3 separate regions of the Homo sapiens genome follow, and all the other regions are linked to region 3. The links are contacts of gene promoters, found by promoter capture Hi-C in blood cells and fetal thymus (Javierre and others, 2016). All regions are on one chromosome and are shown on one strand. Each heading gives the region's core, a stretch centred on a gene start or on the middle of the fragment in contact. The rest is flanking DNA. Distances are from core to core; before and after follow the strand shown.

Region 1 (3,444 bases), core at 945-3,444, 310 kb after region 3:
TGTGTATTTATTTATTTTTAAGAGACACAGTGTCGGGCCGGGTGCGGTGGCTCAAGCCTGTAATCCCAGCACTTTGGGAGGCCAAGACAGGCAGATCACAAGGTCAGGAGATTGAGACCATCCTGGCTAACACGGTGAAACCCTGTCTCTACTAAAAAATACAAAAAATTAGCCAGGCGTGGTGGCAGGCACCTGTAGTCCCAGCTATTCGGGAAGCTGAGGCAGGAGAATGGCATGAACCCGGAAGGTGGAGGTTGCAGTGAGCTGAGATCGCGCCACTGCACTCCAGTCTGGGGACAGAGCAAGACTCTTTCTTAAAAAAAAAAAAAAAAAAAAAAAGACAAGGTATCGCCCTGCCACCCAAGTGCAGTGGTGCAATCATAGCTTGCCGCAGCAGTGACCTCCTGGGCTCAGGCGATCCTCCCACCTCAGCCTCCCTGGGACTATAGGCGCATGCCACCATACCCAGCTAATTTCTTATTTTTTGTAGACATGGGGTCTCACTATGTTGCCTTGGCTAGTCTTGAATTCCTAGGCTCAAGAGATCTTCCTGCCTTGGCCTCCCGAAGTGCTAGGATTATAAGCATGAGCCACTATGCCCGGCCTGTATATTTTTTTACAGCCTGTCTCTGTCAACTGCAATGTCAACTCCAGGGGAGAGTGCTGGTTCAATGGTTTTCTTCCTCAAACAAGAGACGTGACTCTGAGGGACTTGTCCTTCCAGCTACAGGGGTCAGGAATTCAGAAGTGATTAGGGACCCATCCGTATCCCCTGGAACTCATCTGCTAGAGTAAACGTACAAATAGATAATTTCAAGACAAAGGCAGTTTACTTGCAGAGCTGAGTCAGGGCAAGGAGTGAGGAATTCTGCCCTGGGTCCAGAAAGGAGTAACACTGTAGCGGCTACTTCATAGCCCGCCTCCTGTCCCCTCATGCTGGGCCTCCTAGCCTGCAGGGACCTCACCTGTGGATGCAGCGGTCCGGGCAGAGCTCAGCCTCATAGAAGCCATCCCGGCAGTCCTTTCCTACAAGCTCGTGGGGGTGAGGCCGGTGAGGAGGGTCCTTGGTGACCAGGGAGATGCGCACTGTCCCTGGTCCTGTGTAGCCATTGATCTGTCCAAAGTACAGAGGCCCAGACATCCAAACCTGACTCCCAAACACAGAGGGCTGGGGTTCCACAGTCCCTTCCCCGCACACCCTGGCGCAGTGCTGACCTTGATGGTGGGGTGGGTCTTGGTGGTATCTGTGCTCCTCTCGCCTGGGATGCTGCCCGCGGAGCGCCCCTCGCACTTGTAGCGGAAGCGCATGCCCCGCTGCTTGGGCTGCTCAATGATCTCCACATAGGGGCCAGAGGCCTGGGCTGGCTCTGCCAGGGGACACCGCAGCCCCATTAGGCGGCTGCCCCCACTGCCCTACCCCAGGGAGCACCTCCCCGACCGCCGCGGGGGCCACTTACCTGCCGGGAAGATGAGGGGGAACAGTTCTGAAAGGGGAGGGAGATCAGGGTCAGCACACACCCAATGCCCATTCTCACAAGGAGGAATCTGCTCTCCACGGAGAGGAGAAGCCAGGCTCCCTCCCAGGGGAACTGAGTCAGGACCTGCTCCCTAGAACCTGCGGTGAAACTAAGGGGTGGAGGAAAGGAACCAGAAACACCTGCTTCTTGAGGGAAAACGGGGTAAGGAATCCTTCTTCTCCAGAGGGAAGCTGAATCAGGGCCTGTTGTACTTTCTTAAGGAAAATTGAGGGAGGGCACGCCCCACCTCCCTCCAGAGAGGAAACTGAATCAGATGCGTTCTCCCCTAATAGGGAAACGAAGCCAGAGCTGCCCCCATGGACGGTGTGGAGGGAAACTGAGTCAAGGTTCCCTCTGCTCCCCCACCCAGGGAGGATGCTGAGTCAAGGGCCACCCCCTCCACCCAGAGGGGAAACTGAGTCAGACCCCTCCCCGCCTGCCCCGCCCCGCGCCACCATCCGGCAGGCCGACCGCTCCCTGCGCAGCGCCCGTCGGCGCAGGAAGGGGCGGAAAGCGGCGCGGGGGCTCCCGCCACAGCCGCGGCGGCCCCGGCGATGCCACCCCGCGGGGTCAGAGGGCGACCTCACCGTCCATGGCCGGGGTCCCGGGGGCGGGGCCGGGGTCGCAGCTGGGCCCGCGGCGTGCACTACAGACGAGCCATTCGCCAGAGGCGGAAATGCGCCGCGCGGCCCGCCGTCGCGTCACTGCCCGGAATCCGGCCGCGCCTGCGCGCTGCCCCGCCGCCGCCCGGCGCAGGGGCCGGGAGCAAGTGCACGCCGCGCGGAGGACGAAGAGGCTGCACGCACAGCCGCTGCCGGGGGTCGGGGCCAAGTGCGCGCCTCGCCGAGGACGAAGAGGCTGGCGTGCCCGGTGGCTCGGCTAGCTCCCGGGTCCCGGCCCCGCCTGGAGGGTGGGTCCGCCGATTACTCACTTTGTTTTTAGGGGATTTCAGGGCCCCCTCCCGCCGATCGGCGGAGTTTGGTGATGTCACTCTGGGCCGGGTCTGGAGCAAAGCCAGGGCTACTGGGCTGCGGCCGCCCGCCCCGCGCAGGGAAAAGCCCGACCGGGCCTTCTGCTCCGCAGAGGCCGGGTGGTTGAACTCCGCGCGGGTTTCCTAACCGCTAAAGGTGCCTTTCGGTGGTGGCTGTCTCAGAAGCACGTTAAAATGTCCTACCCACCCCAATCTAGATGCGGCTGTGGGGGAATGGGAGCGGCCGGACCTCCCAGCCTGACAGTGCATCAAGAGCTTTGCGGAGCCTACAGCCCGGATGGGACGACTGAGGCCCTCCCGCTGGCGAGCTGGCCGAGGGCTCGTCCCTCTCCAGCTAAAGCGCCAGCTTACGATACAGCCAAACTGCCGGCTCTCATCGGCTGTGGGAGCAGGAGGCCCCCAGGGGTAAATCCCGGAGCCTCGTCTCTGAAGCCTGGCGCTTGTGTCTCAGAAGGTGCGGGACCCACAGGGACACTTGAATCAGCAGGCTCACGACCCCCCACCCCCCTGCCCCCGCCTGTGTTTGCCCTGGACCTCCAGCTAGGGCTGACCACTAATTCTGTCATGTGACCCCACAGTGCAGGTAGCTCCCCCAAGACCAAGCCCAAGGCGCGTCCGTGTGGAGGCTGGGGCTGACGCACCCCCACCCCAGGCCTCATCCCCAAAGGAGGATGCTCCACTGCAGGGGGCGGAGTCTTCTCCAGATGGAGAAAGACTTTTTTATTTTCTCTGAATTCGTCTTAAATTAGGAAATCATGTGGGAATTGGAAAAGATTGGAAATTCTGACTTGTTTCCCAGGCTCTGAAGAAACAGGAAGAGAAAAGTGAAAATAGAGTTAGCACCCCGCCCACTCATTTCAGTTTCTCCAGTGGCTGGCCCTGATTAGAAAAGTGTTTACTTTTGGCAGGGGGCGGGGGAGGCCGACTTCAGGTGAC
Region 2 (4,006 bases), core at 284-2,783, 490 kb after region 3:
TGGGCGCCTGTAATCTCAGCTACTTGGGAGGCTGAGGCAGGAGAATCGCTTGAACCTGGGAGGCGGAGGTTGCAATGAGCCGAGATCCGCCATTGCACTCCAGCCTGAGCAACAAGAGCGAAACTCCATCTCAAAAAAAAAAAAAAAAAAAAAAAGAAACACTTTGGGAGGCCGAGACCGGGGGATCATGAGGTCAGGAGATCGAGACCATCCTGGCTAACATGGTGAAACCCCGTCTCTACTAAAAATACAAAAAATTAGCTGGGCGTGGTGGGCACCTGTAGTCCCAGCTACTAGGGAGGCTGAGGCAGGAGAATGGCTTGAACCCAGGAGGTGGAGCTTGCAGTGAGCCGAGATTGCGCCAGTGCACTCCAGCCTGGGCGACAGAGCAAGACTCCGTCTCAAAAAAAAAAAAAAAAGAAAAAGAAATTAAAATTAAAATGAAGAAAATGAATTGAAAATAGATCATAGCCAGGTAGGGTGGCTCATGCCTGTAATCCCAGCACTTTGGGAGGCCAAGGAGGGTAGATCACTTGAGGTCAGGAGTTTGAGACCAGCCTGGCCAAAAGAGTGAAACCCCATCTCTACTAAAAATACAGAAATTAGCCAGGCGTTGTGGCGGGCACCTGTAATTGCAGCTACTCAGGAGGCTGAGGCAGGAGAATCACGAACCTGGGAGGCGGAGGTTGCAATGAGCCAAGATCGTGCCACTGCACACCAGCCTGGGCAACAGAGCAAGACTCTGTCTCAAAAGAAAAAGAAAAAGAAAAAGAAAATGGATTATAGATACAACTGCAAGAGCTTAAACTGTAACACCTCTAGAAAAATAAATAGAATATCTTCATGACCTTGGGGTAGGCAAAGTTTTCTTTAACAGGACACAAAAAGCCTTAACCATAGACATAAAAGACTGTTATGTTGAGCTTGTAACATTTGAACCATTAAGAGTCAAAGGCAAACTATAGACTAGGAAAAGATACTGACAAAAGGTATAATCAACAATGGGTTTGTCTCCAGCAACAGTTCCTACAAATTACTGAAAAACAGATAATCTGATCTTTCAAAGAGGTGGCAGGAAAGAATCAGAGACCTGAATAGGCACTTTACAAAAGAAGATATGCAGATGGCTGATAAATACAGAAAATGCCGCTCAACATCATTCCTCACCAGGTAATACCAGTTACACTCCCCATGCGCAATTACCATGCCTGGACTAACAGGGTGAAAGTAAAAAAGACTAACAATTCTGAGCTGTCACAGTGGTTTGTGCCCAGACTGATCTATATATTCGATGCAATCACAATCAAAATCCCAGTATGTTTTTCAGGGGTAGAAATGTAAAGGACCTATAATCACCCAAATGATTCTGAAAAAAAAGAATAAAGGTGGAGGCCTTGCACTATCTGATTTCCAGTCTCACCTGTTAGATTACAGTAATCAGTCCAGTGAGATATTATCATAAGGACAAACATAGACCAATGGAACAGAGAGTCCAAAGTTTATCATACTTAATAGGTCAATTGATACGTGTACACAAAAGCAGCTCTCAGCTACTCCAGAGGATTGCCTGAGCCCAGTTCAAGGCCAGCCTGGACAACATTAGCAGGACCCCTTTTCTTTAAAAAAAAAAAAATAATAAATAGAGAGAGAGAGAGATAAAATGACTAACGACTCTGTGGCAAAGATGTAGTACAACTGGAACTTTCATACACAGTGCTGCTGGGAGTGTACATTGGTTTAGTCACCTTAGAAAACCGTTTGGCAGTATTTACTAAAGTGTTTTAAACATACAATATGTCTTCCCTGTAACTAAGCAATTCTCATGCCCAACAGAAATGGGGACTTAGGTCAAAAGTCCTCAAAAGACGGCTGGGCGTGGTGGCTCACATCTGTAATCCTAGCACTTTGGGAGGCCGAAGCGGGCAGATCACTTGAGGTCAGGAGTTCAAGAGCAGCCTGGCCAACATGGCGAAACCCCATCTCTACTAAATTACAAAAATTAGCCAGGCGTGGTGGCGGGCACCTGTATCCCCAGCTACTCAGGAGGCTGAGGCAGGAGAATCACTTGAACCTGGGAGGCGGAGGTTGCTGTGAGCTAAGATCACGTCACTGCACTCCAGCCTGGGTGACACAGCAAGACTCTGTCTCAAAAAAAAAAAAAAAAGTCTTCTAAAGACCTGTGTAAGAATGTTCATGGAAGCCAGACATGGTGCTGCACACTTGTAATCCCAGCTACTTGGGAGGCTGAAGTGGAAGGATGGCTTGAGGCCAGGAGTTCAACCAGCCTGGGCAGCATAGCGAGAACACCCCCCTGCTTTAAAAAAAAAAAAAAAAAAAAAAGGCTGGGTGTGGTGGCTCACTCCTGTAATTCCAGCACTTTGGGAGGCCGAGGCGGGCGGATCATGAGGTCTGGAGATCGAGACCATCCTGGCTAACACAGTGAAACCCCGTCTCTACTAAAAAATACAAAATTAGCTGGGCGTGGTGGTGTATGACTGTAATCCCAGCTACTAGGGAGGCTGAGGCAGGAGAATGGCATGAACCCGGGAGGCGGAGGTTGCAGTGAGCTGAGATCGTGCCACTGCACTCCAGCCTGGGCAACAGAGCAAGACTCCATCTCAAAAAAAAAAAAAAAGTAACCGGTTGCAGTGGCTCACGCCTGTAATCCCAACATTTTGGAAGGCCAAGGTGGGCGGATCACCTGAGGTCAGGAGTTTGAGACCAACCTGGCCAACATAATGAAACCCCGTTTCTACTAAAAATGCAAAAAATTAGCCAGGCATGCTGGCCCATGCTTGTAATCCCAGCTACTCAGGAAGCTGAGGCAGGAGAATCGCTTGAACCAGGAGGCAGAGGTTGCAGTGAGCCGAGATCTTGCCATTACACTCCAGCTTGGTCAACAAGAGCAAAACTCCATCTCAAAAAAAAACCAACAAAAAACTGTTCATGGCAGCTTTATTCATAATAGCCAAAAACTTGAAATAATCCAAATGACCATCAACAGTAGATACATACATTATGATATAATCATGTAATGAAATAAGACACAGCAATGAAAATAACTGCTTCTCCACTCAACAACGTAGAGAGCTCTCTAAAGAACAGGGGCACAAAAGAATACACAATGCATAATTGCATTTCTGTGAAGTTCAAGAATAGGCAGGCCAGCATAGGCTGGGCTCAGTGGCTCACACCTGTAATCCCAGTTCTATGGGAGGCCAAGGTGGGTGGATCACCTGAGGTCAGGAGTTCAAGACCAGCCTGGCCAACATGGTGAAACCCCGTCTCTGCTAAAATACAAAAATTAGCTGGACGTGGTGGTGGGCGTCTGTAATCCCAGCTACTTGGGAGGCTGAAGCAGGAGAATCCCATAAGCCTGAGTGGTAGAGGTTGCAGTGAGTTGAGATCATGTCACTGCACTCCAGCCTGGGCGACAGAGTGAGACTTCGTCTCAAAAAAAAGAATAGGCCAGGACGGGTGCGGTGGCTCACGCCTGTAATCCCAGCACTTTGGAGGCCGAGGCGGGCGGATCACCTGAGGTCAGGAGTTCCAGACCAGCTTCAACAAGGAGAAACCCCATCTCTACTAAAAATACAAAATTAGCTGGGCGTGGTGGTGTATGACTGTAATCCCAGCTACTCGGGAGGCTGAGGCAGGAGAATTGCTTGAACCTGGTAGGCAGAGGTTGCAGTGAGCTGAGATCGTGCCATTGCACTCCAGCCTGGGCAACAAGAGTGAAACTCTGTCTCGAAAAAAAAAAAAAAGAATACGCCAGAATAATCTATGGTGATAGAAGTCAGAATGGTGGTTAGTTCTGGGGTGGGAGATAATTGATGGGTGTGGGGCAAGAAGGAGCCTTCCGGAGTGTTTAAAAAAATGTTTTTTGCCAGGCACGGTGGCTCACGCCTGTAATCCCAGCACTTTGGGAGGCCAAGGCGGGAGGATGACCTGAGGTCAGGAGTTCAAGACCAGCCTGACAAACATGGAGAAACCCCATCTCTACTAA
Region 3 (3,834 bases), core at 14-2,513:
GGCCAGAGCAAGTGCTCTAGGATCTGAACTGCCCGCAGTGCAGCCCTGCAGCCTTTCCCAGGGCACGTTGATGTGCACACAGTTTCCCTGAAGGCAAAGTGAACATGTGGAGAGCTTACGTGGCAGCGCGTATGTCTTCAGTGTGTGTTTTAGAAGTCCAACTGTTGTTTTTATGTTTTTAAAGGAAAGATTTGAATCAAGCAGTTATGGGCCCCCTGAAGTATCCTTTTTTCTAGAACATTCTGAAAGTCATCCTTGCCTATGGGAAGCCTAGGCCGGCCTGCACTGTTATGTTCAATAAATAAGCAGGGTGCTCTGGGCTGGGGATTGTGTGAGGAGCAGAGCGCAGCCCGTCCTCATGCTTTTCCACTGAAGTAGGCCAGGCAGAGAGGGAGTACAGCAATGGATGCGCTTTGGCAGCTGAGTAGTCCGAGAGCCAGAAAAGAAATGTGGAAAATAAGAACGCTGTAGCAGGCCTAGGTGAGGAAATTTAGGAAGGGTTTGCGGGAGGTAGGATTTGAGATGGGTCTTGGAGAGTTGGACAGTGTCAGCCGGTAGGACGGGGGTGCGGACGGAAGCCTGTGAGGAAGGCAGAGGATGCGGAGCTGTGAGCGGAGGGAGCAGCGAGGCTGGAGAGCAGCTGGGCTGCGGGTCAAGACGTCTGCGTTTAATTCGGGACTGAAGGTTAGCAGGGAAGGGAACGATGCCAGATCTTGAGTTTAAGAACTTGAATCTTGTAAAGTACCAAATCTAATAAAATACTCGTCCTAAATCATTACTGGCCCAAGCATGCAGTGTTTCCGTGGCCGACAGACTCGAGCCAGCGCTGTCCATGGTAACCAGCTTTTGTGTGGCTTAAAGCTTGCATCCATTTTCTCCTTTCATCGTTTTCCCAAAACAATTCCGTGAGGGCTGTTAGCCCTGCTTGGTAGACGAAGAAGCCGATGCGGTCTAGGGTCACGGCCAGGGAGGCTTTGGGACGCCAAGTCAGCTCGGCGGTCACCACACCACCTACAGGGCTCGTCGGGCCCTCGGGGTCGGCGGCTGCTGGAGGCGCCCAGGGGAGTCCTGCTGGTTCCTGGCTCCGCCTCCCGCCCCTCCGCGCTAGAAGCCCCGCCCCCAGAGGGGCTCGACGAACCGCCACTTCCGCAACGTCCAATGAAACTTAGCCGGGGGAGGGACGGGGCGCCACTGAGGACCAATCTGCTTGGGCCGGGGCGGGGCTGCGGCGGGTGGGTGCAGAGGGGCCGCACCGCGGACTTCGCAGCCGGGAGAGAGCCCGGCGCGGGCGGCGCGCACGGGACTCTGCTGTGCGCGCGCCCGCCCGCCCGCCGTCCGCGCAGGCCCTCGGTCCGCTCTGCCCTCGGGGTCGTGGCGCCCATCCCTCCCCTGTTCTGCTGTCGCCGCCCGGACAGGGGCTCGGGAGCCGGGCTGGGGGCAGGGGCTGGAGCCGCGGGACCAGCGCCTGAGGTGGGTGCGGAGCGGGAGGCCGGGCGGGCGGGCGCCTGGGGCCGCCCCGCCGACATACTCCGGGTCGAGGGGGAGTGACCGGCCAGGGCACGGAGTCCGGCTGCCGGCCTGCCTGGGTCCGGGCGTTCGTTCCCGCGCCCTGGGACCCTCCCAGGCCACCACCCTCCCCGCGGGGACACCCCGCCCCTCCGCTGCCCGCAGCCTCCTCAGGCCTCCCGCCCTTTGTCGCTCGTGCACCTGCGCCCTCGGCCCTGCCCTCTCGCTCCCCTCAGGACTGACCGTCGCCTAGCCTCCCTCTCAGGACCCGGCACCAAATTAGCCTCGCTCCTTCAGACACCCTCTGTCCCCTTTGTCGTCTGTACACCTGTCACCTCAACTCTGTGTGCATCCACCCACCTCCCACCCCCCAGCGGCGTCATCTGAATCCAGCCCAAGCCGCCTCCCACTCCCTCCCGGGGGCTCCTCCCCCGCAGCCCCGTAGCCCCACACCTGCCCCCTCGGCCCCAGTCCCAGGCCCTCCCCCGTCCGTATGCCTTTGTTATCTCTGCAGCTGTCCCCTGCACTTTTCATCCTTCTTCCCGAGTGAGGCCAGACCCCAGCCCAGACTCCCCTGTCCTTCTGAGTGGAGAGACGCCCCCTCCCCAGCTCTGCCCTGGCATCCTGGGGACGGGGCCAGCCGGCTTCCACTCGGCCTAGCCACTTCCTCTTTCAGCGGGTCCAGTCTCACCCGGTGCCTGCGCAAGTCCTCATCTAATCTCTTTTCCCTCCTGCGCTCCTTTCCTAGCTCTTCCGGCCTCAGATTACTCTACCCGCTCAATCTTTCCTCCCCGCACAGGTGCCCCGGAGAGGCCATGGAGCTGAGCAGCAAGAAGAAGCTTCACGCCCTGTCCCTGGCCGAGAAGATCCAGGTGCTGGAACTCCTGGATGAGTCCAAGATGTCCCAGTCGGAGGTGGCCCGGCGCTTCCAGGTTTCCCAGCCCCAGATCTCGCGCATCTGCAAGAATAAGGAGAAGCTGCTGGCGGACTGGTGCAGCGGCACAGCCAACCGAGAGCGCAAGCGCAAGCGGGAGTCCAAGTACAGCGGGATCGACGAGGCTCTGCTCTGCTGGTACCACATTGCCCGGGCCAAGGCCTGGGACGTGACGGGGCCCATGCTGCTCCACAAAGCCAAGGAGCTGGCCGATATCATGGGCCAGGACTTCGTGCCCAGCATCGGCTGGCTGGTCCGCTGGAAACGCCGAAACAACGTCGGCTTTGGGGCCCGCCATGTTCTTGCGCCTTCATTCCCCCCTGAGCCACCTCCCCCGGGGCTCACATCCCAGGCTCAGCTGCCTCTTTCCCTAAAAGACTTCTCTCCAGAGGACGTGTTTGGCTGTGCTGAATTGCCCTTGCTGTATCGGGCAGTGCCCGGCAGCTTTGGTGCATGTGATCAAGTACAGGTGCTGCTGTGTGCCAACAGCAGGGGCACCGAGAAGCGGCGGGTACTGCTGGGTGGGCTCCAGGCTGCCCCGAGATGCTTCTTTGGGATCCGCAGTGAGGCTCTGCCTGCCTCCTACCACCCGGACCTGGGCATCCCCTGGTTAGAGTGGTTGGCACAGTTTGACCGGGACATGGGACAGCAGGGCCGACAGGTGGCTTTGCTGCTGGCTGCCCGAGTGGTGGAGGAGCTGGCAGGCCTGCCTGGGCTCTACCACGTGAAGCTCTTGCCTCTGGCCGCCTCTAGCACCACGCCTCCCCTGCCCAGCTCAGTGGTCCGGGCCTTTAAGGCCCATTACCGACACCGGCTGTTGGGCAAACTGGCTGCCATCCAAAGCGAGAGGGATGGCACCTCGCTGGCCGAGGCCGGGGCAGGCATCACCGTGCTGGACGCCCTGCACGTGGCGTCTGCCGCCTGGGCCAAGGTGCCTCCTCAGCTCATTTTCAGCAGCTTCATTCAAGAAGGGCTGGCTCCCGGCAAAACGCCCCCGTCCTCGCACAAAACCTCTGAGATGCCACCAGTCCCCGGCGGGCTGAGCCTGGAGGAGTTTTCCCGCTTTGTGGACCTGGAGGGTGAGGAGCCAAGGTCTGGAGTATGTAAGGAGGAGATAGGCACTGAAGACGAGAAGGGGGACAGAGAGGGTGCCTTTGAGCCCCTGCCCACCAAAGCTGATGCCCTCCGGGCCCTGGGCACCTTGAGGAGGTGGTTTGAATGCAACAGCACTTCTCCTGAGCTATTCGAAAAATTCTACGACTGTGAGGAGGAGGTGGAGCGGCTTTGCTGCCTATGAAGGCGCCTTCACTGCTTGCCAGAGCCCCTTCCTCTCTTGTTTCCCATGGAAACGGCCTCTTCAGAAGGCAGATCGGGCTGTCTCTTTCCTGTGGAAA

The links. Contacts are between HindIII fragments. The CHiCAGO score rates a contact against its expected background, and 5 or more counts as called.
Region 1: the fragment with the promoter of RELA here is called in contact with the fragment with the promoter of TIGD3 in region 3 in 1 of 17 cell types (neutrophils); the score reaches 6.5 in neutrophils.
Region 2: a fragment that was not itself captured here is called in contact with the fragment with the promoter of TIGD3 in region 3 in 1 of 17 cell types (neutrophils); the score reaches 5.5 in neutrophils.

Annotation. Positions count from the first base shown.
Region 1 is chr11:65,660,722-65,664,165 of GRCh38, forward strand. It overlaps RELA (RELA proto-oncogene, NF-kB subunit), which reads right to left and starts at 2,195. Exons shown (of 11, transcript NM_021975.4): 1 at 2,105-2,195; 2 at 1,458-1,484; 3 at 1,216-1,367; 4 at 966-1,114. The coding sequence starts at 2,111. RELA-DT (RELA divergent transcript) reads left to right here and starts at 2,285. Exons shown (of 4, transcript NR_183625.1): 1 at 2,285-2,427. RefSeq lists silencers at 1,882-1,941, 2,002-2,411 and an enhancer at 2,502-2,701. The HindIII fragment of the contact is 22,197 bases long and covers 1-3,444 here.
Region 2 is chr11:65,842,818-65,846,823 of GRCh38, forward strand. All of the region lies in intron 1 of SNX32 (sorting nexin 32), which reads left to right. Among named protein-coding and RNA genes, the nearest start is that of SNX32, 11 kb to the left of the region's middle. The HindIII fragment of the contact is 8,144 bases long and covers 1-4,006 here.
Region 3 is chr11:65,353,488-65,357,321 of GRCh38, forward strand. TIGD3 (tigger transposable element derived 3) reads left to right here and starts at 1,264. Exons shown (of 2, transcript NM_145719.3): 1 at 1,264-1,470; 2 at 2,306-3,834. The coding sequence starts at 2,322. The coding sequence ends at 3,737. It overlaps DPF2 (double PHD fingers 2), which reads left to right. Exons shown (of 11, transcript NM_006268.5): 11 at 1-775. RefSeq lists silencers at 992-1,051, 1,142-1,461, 1,482-1,541, 1,552-1,721, 1,782-1,971. The HindIII fragment of the contact is 1,484 bases long and covers 860-2,343 here.